Regions from separate parts of the Homo sapiens genome. Here all the other regions are linked to region 2. The links are contacts of gene promoters, found by promoter capture Hi-C in blood cells and fetal thymus (Javierre and others, 2016). All regions are on one chromosome and are shown on one strand. The core of a region is centred on a gene start or on the middle of the fragment in contact, and the rest is flanking DNA. Distances in the headings are between cores, read along the strand shown.

The links. Contacts are between HindIII fragments. The CHiCAGO score rates a contact against its expected background, and 5 or more counts as called.
Region 1: a fragment that was not itself captured here is called in contact with the fragment with the promoter of SPECC1 in region 2 in 8 of 17 cell types (M2 macrophages, M1 macrophages, M0 macrophages and 5 more); the score reaches 9.8 in M2 macrophages.
Region 3: a fragment that was not itself captured here is called in contact with the fragment with the promoter of SPECC1 in region 2 in 2 of 17 cell types (erythroblasts and M0 macrophages); the score reaches 5.4 in erythroblasts.

What each region holds. Positions count from the first base shown.
Region 1 is chr17:20,244,763-20,247,462 of GRCh38, reverse strand. It overlaps SPECC1 (sperm antigen with calponin homology and coiled-coil domains 1), which reads right to left. Exons shown (of 15, transcript NM_001243439.2): 8 at 1,392-1,537; 9 at 144-244. Among named protein-coding and RNA genes, the nearest start is that of FAM106B, 170 kb to the left of the region's middle. The HindIII fragment of the contact is 2,846 bases long and covers 1-2,700 here.
Region 2 is chr17:20,007,926-20,010,625 of GRCh38, reverse strand. It overlaps SPECC1 (sperm antigen with calponin homology and coiled-coil domains 1), which reads right to left and starts at 1,267. Exons shown (of 15, transcript NM_001243439.2): 1 at 1,202-1,267. It overlaps SPECC1-DT (SPECC1 divergent transcript), which reads left to right and starts at 1,366. Exons shown (of 1, transcript NR_186461.1): 1 at 1,366-2,571. RefSeq lists silencers at 596-775, 796-1,465 and an enhancer at 1,898-2,465. The HindIII fragment of the contact is 26,343 bases long and covers 1-2,700 here.
Region 3 is chr17:20,198,823-20,201,522 of GRCh38, reverse strand. The region is part of intron 3 of SPECC1 (sperm antigen with calponin homology and coiled-coil domains 1); the gene reads right to left. Among named protein-coding and RNA genes, the nearest start is that of SPECC1, 190 kb to the right of the region's middle. The HindIII fragment of the contact is 9,625 bases long and covers 1-2,700 here.

The DNA of each region.
Region 1 (2,700 bases), core at 141-2,640, 240 kb before region 2:
AATAATGCATAGTGCAATCCAATTTACAAAACACATACTCTACACACACACATACACACACGGACACTAATATGTGTAAAGAAAAACATCTAGAGGGATACACAGCAAACCATAAGCAGTGGTTATTTCTGGGGCTCATCTACCTGCATTGGAGAGACAGCAGCTGCTGGAGCAGTCCTCACTGGTATCCCACTTAGGGGACTTCTGGGGGTCTTATGGACAGAAATATTCTGTCCAGCTCCACCTGCCAAGAAAAAACATGGGAACATTTATATGTTGTTCCACTTCAAAATAGCATATACTTGTTCCTGATTTCTTGTTACTTTTTTTGGTGGCTTAAGGAGTATCCGTGTTTAGTGTAATATTTACTCTATTATCCTTTTCTTCTCCGGACTAGAGCTGCTTTGGGGAAACAAGAAGGGAAGATTTAGCTGAGTGGAGGTCAGTCTTAGATGAAGGATAGCTGAGCAAAAAGAAACTGTATAAATAATGAGATGCCTAGAGAAGGAAGGAACAGAAAAGTTCTTGTACAAATTGTTAATTCATTTCCTGTCTTCACAGACATGAAAGGCTTTCATGTCTTTGAATATGTAGAGTCTAGTCTTAATCTAATTTAGGTGCAAACAATTTTAGCAGAGACAACCAGGTACATCCTAGGATTAACTTTTACTACAGTCTCCCAATACAATGGCATGTTTGTTGCACTCTGGGGAAGAAAGATATTGTTACTGTAGACAGATGCACATTCTGTTTCTTCTATTTGCTATGTTTATGTGTACAGTATATGTATGAAGTATAGCTACGCATCTTTCTCATATAGGAAGATAAGCATGACTAAAGGGGAATTGTGAGACCATCAGACAACACCAGGAAAAGCTGGGAACACACCTAGATCAGGAGTGACAGATTAGCACAGGTGCTCACGTACAAGACCAGGTAGAAAAACGTCTAGCAGGTTGCAAGATGGGGATGGCCAGGGGTGCCTCCAAGAGGGCCAGGTGCAGAGATGTGATGTCTCGTTTCCTAGGAGATGAAGTCTCCAGCTGACCCTCATAATTCTCATGAGATGACAAAAAGGCAAATAGTAGTGACCTGAATTTAATGGCTATGAGAGGCAGAAAAGAAAGGTAGCAAGGCAGGAACTGGATGGAAGGAAGCGGTAGAGAGGAAGAGGCTGCATTTGTGTTATTCATGAGCCAGGCTCTCCATCAGTGCCTCCCTGGAGCCTCAGCCAGGCTCCTGCATGCAGTGGCTGCACGTGGTAGGACCTGGAAAGCGCCCTTGTGGTTGTAACAACACAGGGCCAGGGTGGAGTAGAGATAGTAGACATATCAAATGTCGGGCCAAAGTTTGAATTTGGAGCTTTGCTTATAGAAAAAATGATTAAATACCTGGGCGTCCCAAGTCAAATGACTTGATAAGTGACTTAACGGTGGTTGCCGACTCTGGGGGTGTTGGAGATGTTCTGCTAACACAGACACCAGGCCACCGACCAGCAGCATCGACCTCAGAGGACTCTGGCTCTTCATCCACAGGTCTGCATGGCAAAGAGCAAATCAGATTGAAAAGATGGAGGACATCCCCATGGGAGAAAAAGACACAGAGGAAAACAGAACTGATGTGGAGAAAATAAATGAAGCTGGAAGGGAAATTCTGAATTTAACATCCTGTTTTCTCTACCAGTTTGCATCTTTAGGAAATAATGTAGGCATTGCTCTCAATTTTTAGAAGAGCTGTTTTCTTGGGAAATGGTCAGAAATAATTATTTTTATATGTAGAGTGACTTGATATTAGCTCTAAATAAAAAGTGTGTATGGCTACTCTGCAAATTGTGCATTTTTTGTGAAAAAATGCAAATGTTATTGACCATAAATATTTCACCTACTGTCAATGGTGAATGCAGTGGACCGGCTGCCGACATGTGCTCCAACCCCCATGCAGTACACAGAGTTTGGAAAGATGAAATCTCACAGCTCTCCTACAGCTGGGATTTTGGGTGTGATTTAAGTTCCACCAATCAGAAAGACTTGGGCAAGACCTGGAGTGGGACCTGAATCAGAGGAAGAGAGGCAGGGCACCGGGCATTCACTATGTAGACAGAGACTGTAGCAGAGACAAGATGCTATGGTGCTGGCAACTGTGGTGGCAGCTTTCCAACTGGGTGGGCAGCTTTCTGAAGTTAAGGCTCCTGTCCTGGTGGAGGGAGCAGGTTCCCTGGTGGTCCAGTTGTGTGTGGAGACTTTGGGAGCTGCTCCTGGAAGCTCAGCCTTCCCAACAATTCTGCAAACCATTTAACACCTTTCTGCCTAAGCCAACGAGAGTGCAATCCATTATACACAACAGAATCCTGATTCAGACACTCTGACTTCTAAGCATAAGAATGGTAACAGCACTCTAAAATCACACTGCAATTCTGCATGAGGTGAAGCTCCTGCTCTCACCCAAGTTTCCTGGTGTGTTCTTCATGAGGCTTCTAGACTCATAGAAAGCATTCTATGATAGATCATTGACCCAATCCTCAATCCTCTCAATGCATGGCTTCCTCATATAGGGGACTTTGGCATGTCATGTGATCTCCCTGTGAAGGAGCCAAGACAAGAACTCCCAACCTTCTCATTGCTAAATCACTGCTCTCTTCATTGTATCATATTGCCACAGCTGTTTTGCAAGATGACTAATTTATGATAATAGTTCAAACAG
Region 2 (2,700 bases), core at 18-2,517:
AAACTATTAAAACTGAGACAGGCTTTAGTATGGAGGCTCAGCTTCAGCTGTAGTTTGGGCTACCAAATTCAACTCGCTTGCTTGGAGAGTTAATCCTGCAAAGCTAATTTCTGTTGAGGTATTAGGATTGACAAGCCTGTGCTCCTCCCTCCTCCCCCATCTTCAACACTGAAATAACACGGTGTTTGGAACTGGATAACAGAATCTTCCAAAAACAAAAATTGTCCTGAAGGGCTGACTTGTGCCCTTACTCAAAAAACACTTTATCTGCTGCCTGCAGCTCCTACAGTTGCTGGTGGATAAGCCTGCCAACCAGCTCGGCGTAATTCTTCCTGCAGAGGGCAAGGAAGAGCACTTTCACAGGAAAATTTTTTTCCGAACTGTATGCCGCTTATTACATAAACTTACGTGCTGGCAAATGGAGCTCCAGCAAAATAAGATATTCAGAGTCAAACTTCCTTAGGAAAAAAAAAAAAAAAAAGCAAGCACATAACACTAATTTCCTTGCATGGGCACTGGGGAAGGAGGTCGTTACTTCCGCACGCCCGCAGGTCCGCACCACCGGGAAACCCACGGGCACCGCGCGCTGCCCCCGGGCCTTCCAGGTGCACTGCGCCGCGGCGCCCCAGCTGACCCGGGATGCGCAGCCCTAGCCCTTCCCCTGTCACCCCGGCCAGGAAGGGGCGGGAGCGCGGCGGACGCCGAGGGCGAAGGGCTTCTCGGTCCTCTGCACCACGCAGCACCCCCAAGGCACAACAGGGAGGGTGCGGGAGGCTCCCGAGACCCAGGAGCCGGGGCCGGGCGTGCCCGCGCACCTGTCCCACTGCGGCGAGGGCTGGGGTCGCCTCCAGGGCCGCAGCTGTCGGGAGCCACCTGGCTCTCAGTCCCGGGTCCCTGCGACAACCCTCGGGCCCGGAGGGGAGGAGGCGGCCACCTGCCGCTGCCACCTGCGGCACCGGTCCCACCGCTCCGGGCCGGGCAGGACAGGCCAGGACGTCCCTCCTGGGCTGGGGACAGGACACGCGACGAGGGGACCGGGGCCCCCGCGGCGAAGACGCAGCACGCCTTCCCAGAAAGGCAGTCCCGTGCCCCCACGACGGACTGCCGGACCCCCGCGCTCGCCCGCCCATCCCTTCAGACCACGCGGCTGAGGCGCAAAGAGCCGGCCGGCGGGCGGGCTGGCGGCGCGGCTAGTACTCACCGGCCCCGCTGGCTCAGCGCCGCCGCAACCCCCAGCGGCCACGGCTCCGGGCGCTCACTGATGCTCAGGAGAGGGACCCGCGCTCCGCCGGCGCCTCCAGCCATCGCCGCCAGGGGGCGAGCGCGAGCCGCGCGGGGCTCGCTGGGAGATGTAGTACCCGGACCGCCGCCTGCGCCGTCCTCCTTCAGCCGGCGGCCGGGGGCCCCCTCTCTCCCAGCTCTCAGTGTCTCATCTCCCTATCTGCTCATCCTCTGGTCGCACATAATCGATGTTTGGGCGTCCCAAGCCAGATGTGGACCCCATTTCCGCACTCTACACTGGAGGTTTTCTAAGGGTGGTGCCCGGACCAGCAGCTTCAGCCTCATCTGGGAACTTGAGAAAATGCAGATTCTCCGTCCCACCCAGCCTATTCGGTTTTTCCTGCACTAAAACCATGAAGGTGGGGCCCAGCAGTCCACATTCTCGCAAGCCCGTCAAGTGATTCTGAGGCGCCCTCCAGTTTGAGAGCTATGCTCACGGCCTCACCTCCGCCCCGCAAGGAGCCCGGTCTTGCCTGTGGCGCTAGCCGCACACGGACACCTCATCCTGCGGGGCCCGCCCCCCCGCTGCACCCTCACCGCCCAACGCCTCCTCCGGGATGCAGCGGAGGCGCCTGGAAGTCGGCAAGGTCAACATCCCCCTCAGCATCTTCCCTACCCTCACGGCTCCTCCTCCAGGGGTGCCTCATGGCCAGGGGTTAGAAAGAGCCACTGTGTTTCTTGACATGGAAGTGGCCTAAGACCTTAATGAAAACTGCAGGAGTGGAATGACAGAACCTTTGGTCATACTTGAGGGCGTGAAGCTCAAATGAGGAGGAAGGAAAGGATCCAGGGAGAATAACCAACCCTGGCAAGTTGTGGCGCCCAGGTAGAGGGGCGAGCCTAGGCTAGCGGTTCTCGACCAGGGCCGGTGTTGCCCCTCCTCGCCGCCCCGCGTACATTTGGGGAGGTCTGGAGACATTTTTGGTTGTCATGATGCGGGAGTTGCTACTGTTGCCTAAGTGGGTAGACACGAGGGTGCTCCTCAACATCCTACCTGAAGGACAGGACTGCCCCACAAGGAAGAATGATCCGGCCCCAAATAAGAAACCCTGGGCTGGTCAGCAACAACCCCTTTGTTCTGAGAAGAGAGGAGGAAAGAATAAAAGAAGTGGGGTGAAGTTTTGGTTTGGTAGAGGAAACTTGAAGACATTTTCACTGGAAAGGAAGAGAGGAAGAGGAGGGAGATGTCTGTAAGGACGAGCAAACCGGGTGACAGCTGATTTCCTCATATTGAAGTAATGAGTCCTAGTTATAATAAATTCCTAATAAAAACCCAGTTTATCCCTGCAATAAACTTGTCTTTTTTTTTTAAATATACTGCTTGATTCTGTTTGCTAATATTTTATTTACAGGCTTTGCATTGATATGCAAAAATGAGATGGGCAATAATTTTCTTTTTGAATGTCTAATGTTGTTTGG
Region 3 (2,700 bases), core at 188-2,687, 190 kb before region 2:
CTAAATTAAGGCTGACTTTTTCTTTCTTTTTTTATTTTTTTGAGATGGAGTTTTGCTCTTGTTGCCCAGGCTGGAATGCAATGTGCGACCTCAGCTCACTGCAACCTCTGCCTCCAAAGTTTAAGTGATTCTCCTGCCTCAGCATCCCGAATAGCTGGAACTACAGGCGCGAGCCACCATGCTCGGCTAATTTACTGTATTTCGTTTTTTTGTTTTTTTTTTTTTAGTAGAGATGGGGTTTCACCATGTTGGCCAGGCTGGTCTCGATCTCCTGACCTCAGGTGATCTCCCCGCCTTGGCCTCCCAAGTGCTAGGATGACAGGCGTGAGCCACCGTGCCCAGCCACTTTCTTTTTTTTAAACCTTCAATTGTTTGTTGGTTTTGAAGCTGGAAAAATTAATATAGAACAGATCAAGTCTGCTGTTATTTCCAGCTACAGTTTAACACCTTCCTTTTGCTGCCAAATTGCAGTCTGTTCTCCCCATAAGTGTTACTTCTGCCTTATCTATACTACTAGGAATTTTTAAAAAACCATGAAACTAAAGTATATTTATGAATGGATGTGTATTATGAAATGTACAATCCAGCCATATTTTTGTTATATCTATTCTTTTTCCTTTTTTTTTTTTTTTACTATGTCTGTCTCTGTTTTCCAAAAGATTCTTCCCATCTCTGTACACCTCATTTCAGAAACTGTTACAGAGCACAGGTTAGGTTCAGAGTTGCTAAAAATTCATCATCAGACCAATGATGATGGTCTTGGTTGTGCACCCACCATGTGAGCCCAGGCCTCCAGCCCAAACACACCTCCTCGTGGGTACTGACAGGGAAAAGTAAAGAGCAACAGCCCTACAGCTTACGACACCTCCTTGAAGCAGTGGGAGTCAGACCTCACTGCTAACCAAAGCACTCTGAAGTCCTGAGACTGGCCATGCTTCCTTACACAGCACCACATAAGGGACAGTGGAGAGAAGGGCCAGTGGAACAGGGATTGGCTCAGCCAGCACCATTGGATCTTTTGTGCTGCTCCCACCCCGTCATCACTTATGTGTACCATCCTCCTGAGGCTGGCTGATTCCAAGAAGTTAACATAAAAGCAAGCTCCATCTCATAATTATGAAGATTAACACAATCATAAAGAAGAAACATGTTTGAAGTGTGACATTTTTTAAATGCCAATGAAAAATTATACTGTGGTCAATCACGAGTACATCAAACTAAGCATTCATAGAATTCATATAAAATAAGCATTCACAAACTATAACAGAACACATGATATTGAGAACAGCTGAGTATTAAGCTGGTTGGTCTGTGAGTAATGTTACTGTTTCTCTTTTATGATTACATCTGTGCAATAAATTAGAAAACAGGAGTTAGCCAAACTGTATATGAAAAAAATGCACTAATCATCAGGGAAATGCAAATTAAAACCACAATGAGATATCACTTCTGTTAGAATGGGTACTACATTTGGGAGGTCAAGGCGGGTGGATCACAAGGTCAGGAGATCGAGACCATCCTGGCCAACGTGGTGAAACCCCATCTCTACTAAAAATGCAAAAATTAGCCGGGCGGTGGTGCCACAAACGCCTGTAGTCCCAGCTACTCAGGAGGCTGAGGCAAGAGAATCACTTAAAGCCGGGAGGCGGAGGTTGCAGTGAGCCAAGATCACGCCACTGCACGCCAGCCTGGGCAACAGAGCGAGACTCTGTCTCAAAAAATAAAATAAAATAAGACACAAGATAACAAGTATTGGTGAGGATATGGAGAAAAAGGAACCCCTGTACACTGTTGGTGAGAATGTCAATCAGTACAACCATTATGGAGAACAGTATGGAGTTTCCTCAAAAAGTTTAAAATAAGGCCAAGGCAGTAGGATCACTAGAGACTAGGAGTTCAAGAACAGCCTGGGCAACAGAGTGAGACCCTATCTCTACACAAAAATATTTAAACATTAGCCTGGGAATGGGGGCATGCACCTGTGGTCCCAGCCACTTGGAAGGATGAGGTAGGAGGATCACTTGAGCCCAGGAGTTTGAGGCTGCAGTGAGCTGAGATTACACCACTGTACTCCAGCCTGGGTGACCAGAGAAAGACCCTGTCTCTATTTAAAAAAAAAAAAAAAAAAAAAAAAAAAAACCAGCACGGTGGCTCACGCCTGTAATTCCAGCACTTTGGGAGGCCGAGGCAGGTGGATCACCTGAGGTCAGGAGTTCAAGACCAGCCTGGCCAACATGGCAAAACCCTGTCTCTACTAAAAATACAAAAATTAGCTGGGCGCCACAGCACATGCCTGTAACTCCAGCTACTTGGGAGGCTGAGGCAGGAGAATTGCTTGAACCCAGGAGACGAAGGGTGCAGTGAGCTGAAATCAGACTACTGCACTCCAGCCTGGGCAACAGAGTAAGACTCTGTTTCAAAAAAAAAAAAAAAAAAAAAAAAGCTACCATAAGATCCTGCAATTCCATTACCACATATGTAGCCTAGAAGGCAACAAAGCAAAAGCCTTCAAAGTTCGGAGGGAAAATGACTTTCAACCTAGATTTCTCTACCCAGATGAACTATAAATCAATCACAGAGGTAGAATACATTTTAAAGCATGCAAAAACTGAGAAAATTAAACTGTTAATACCCTTTCTAAGGAAGTTATTTGAGGATGTGTTCCAGAAAAACAAGGGAGGAAACCAAAGAGGAAGAGAA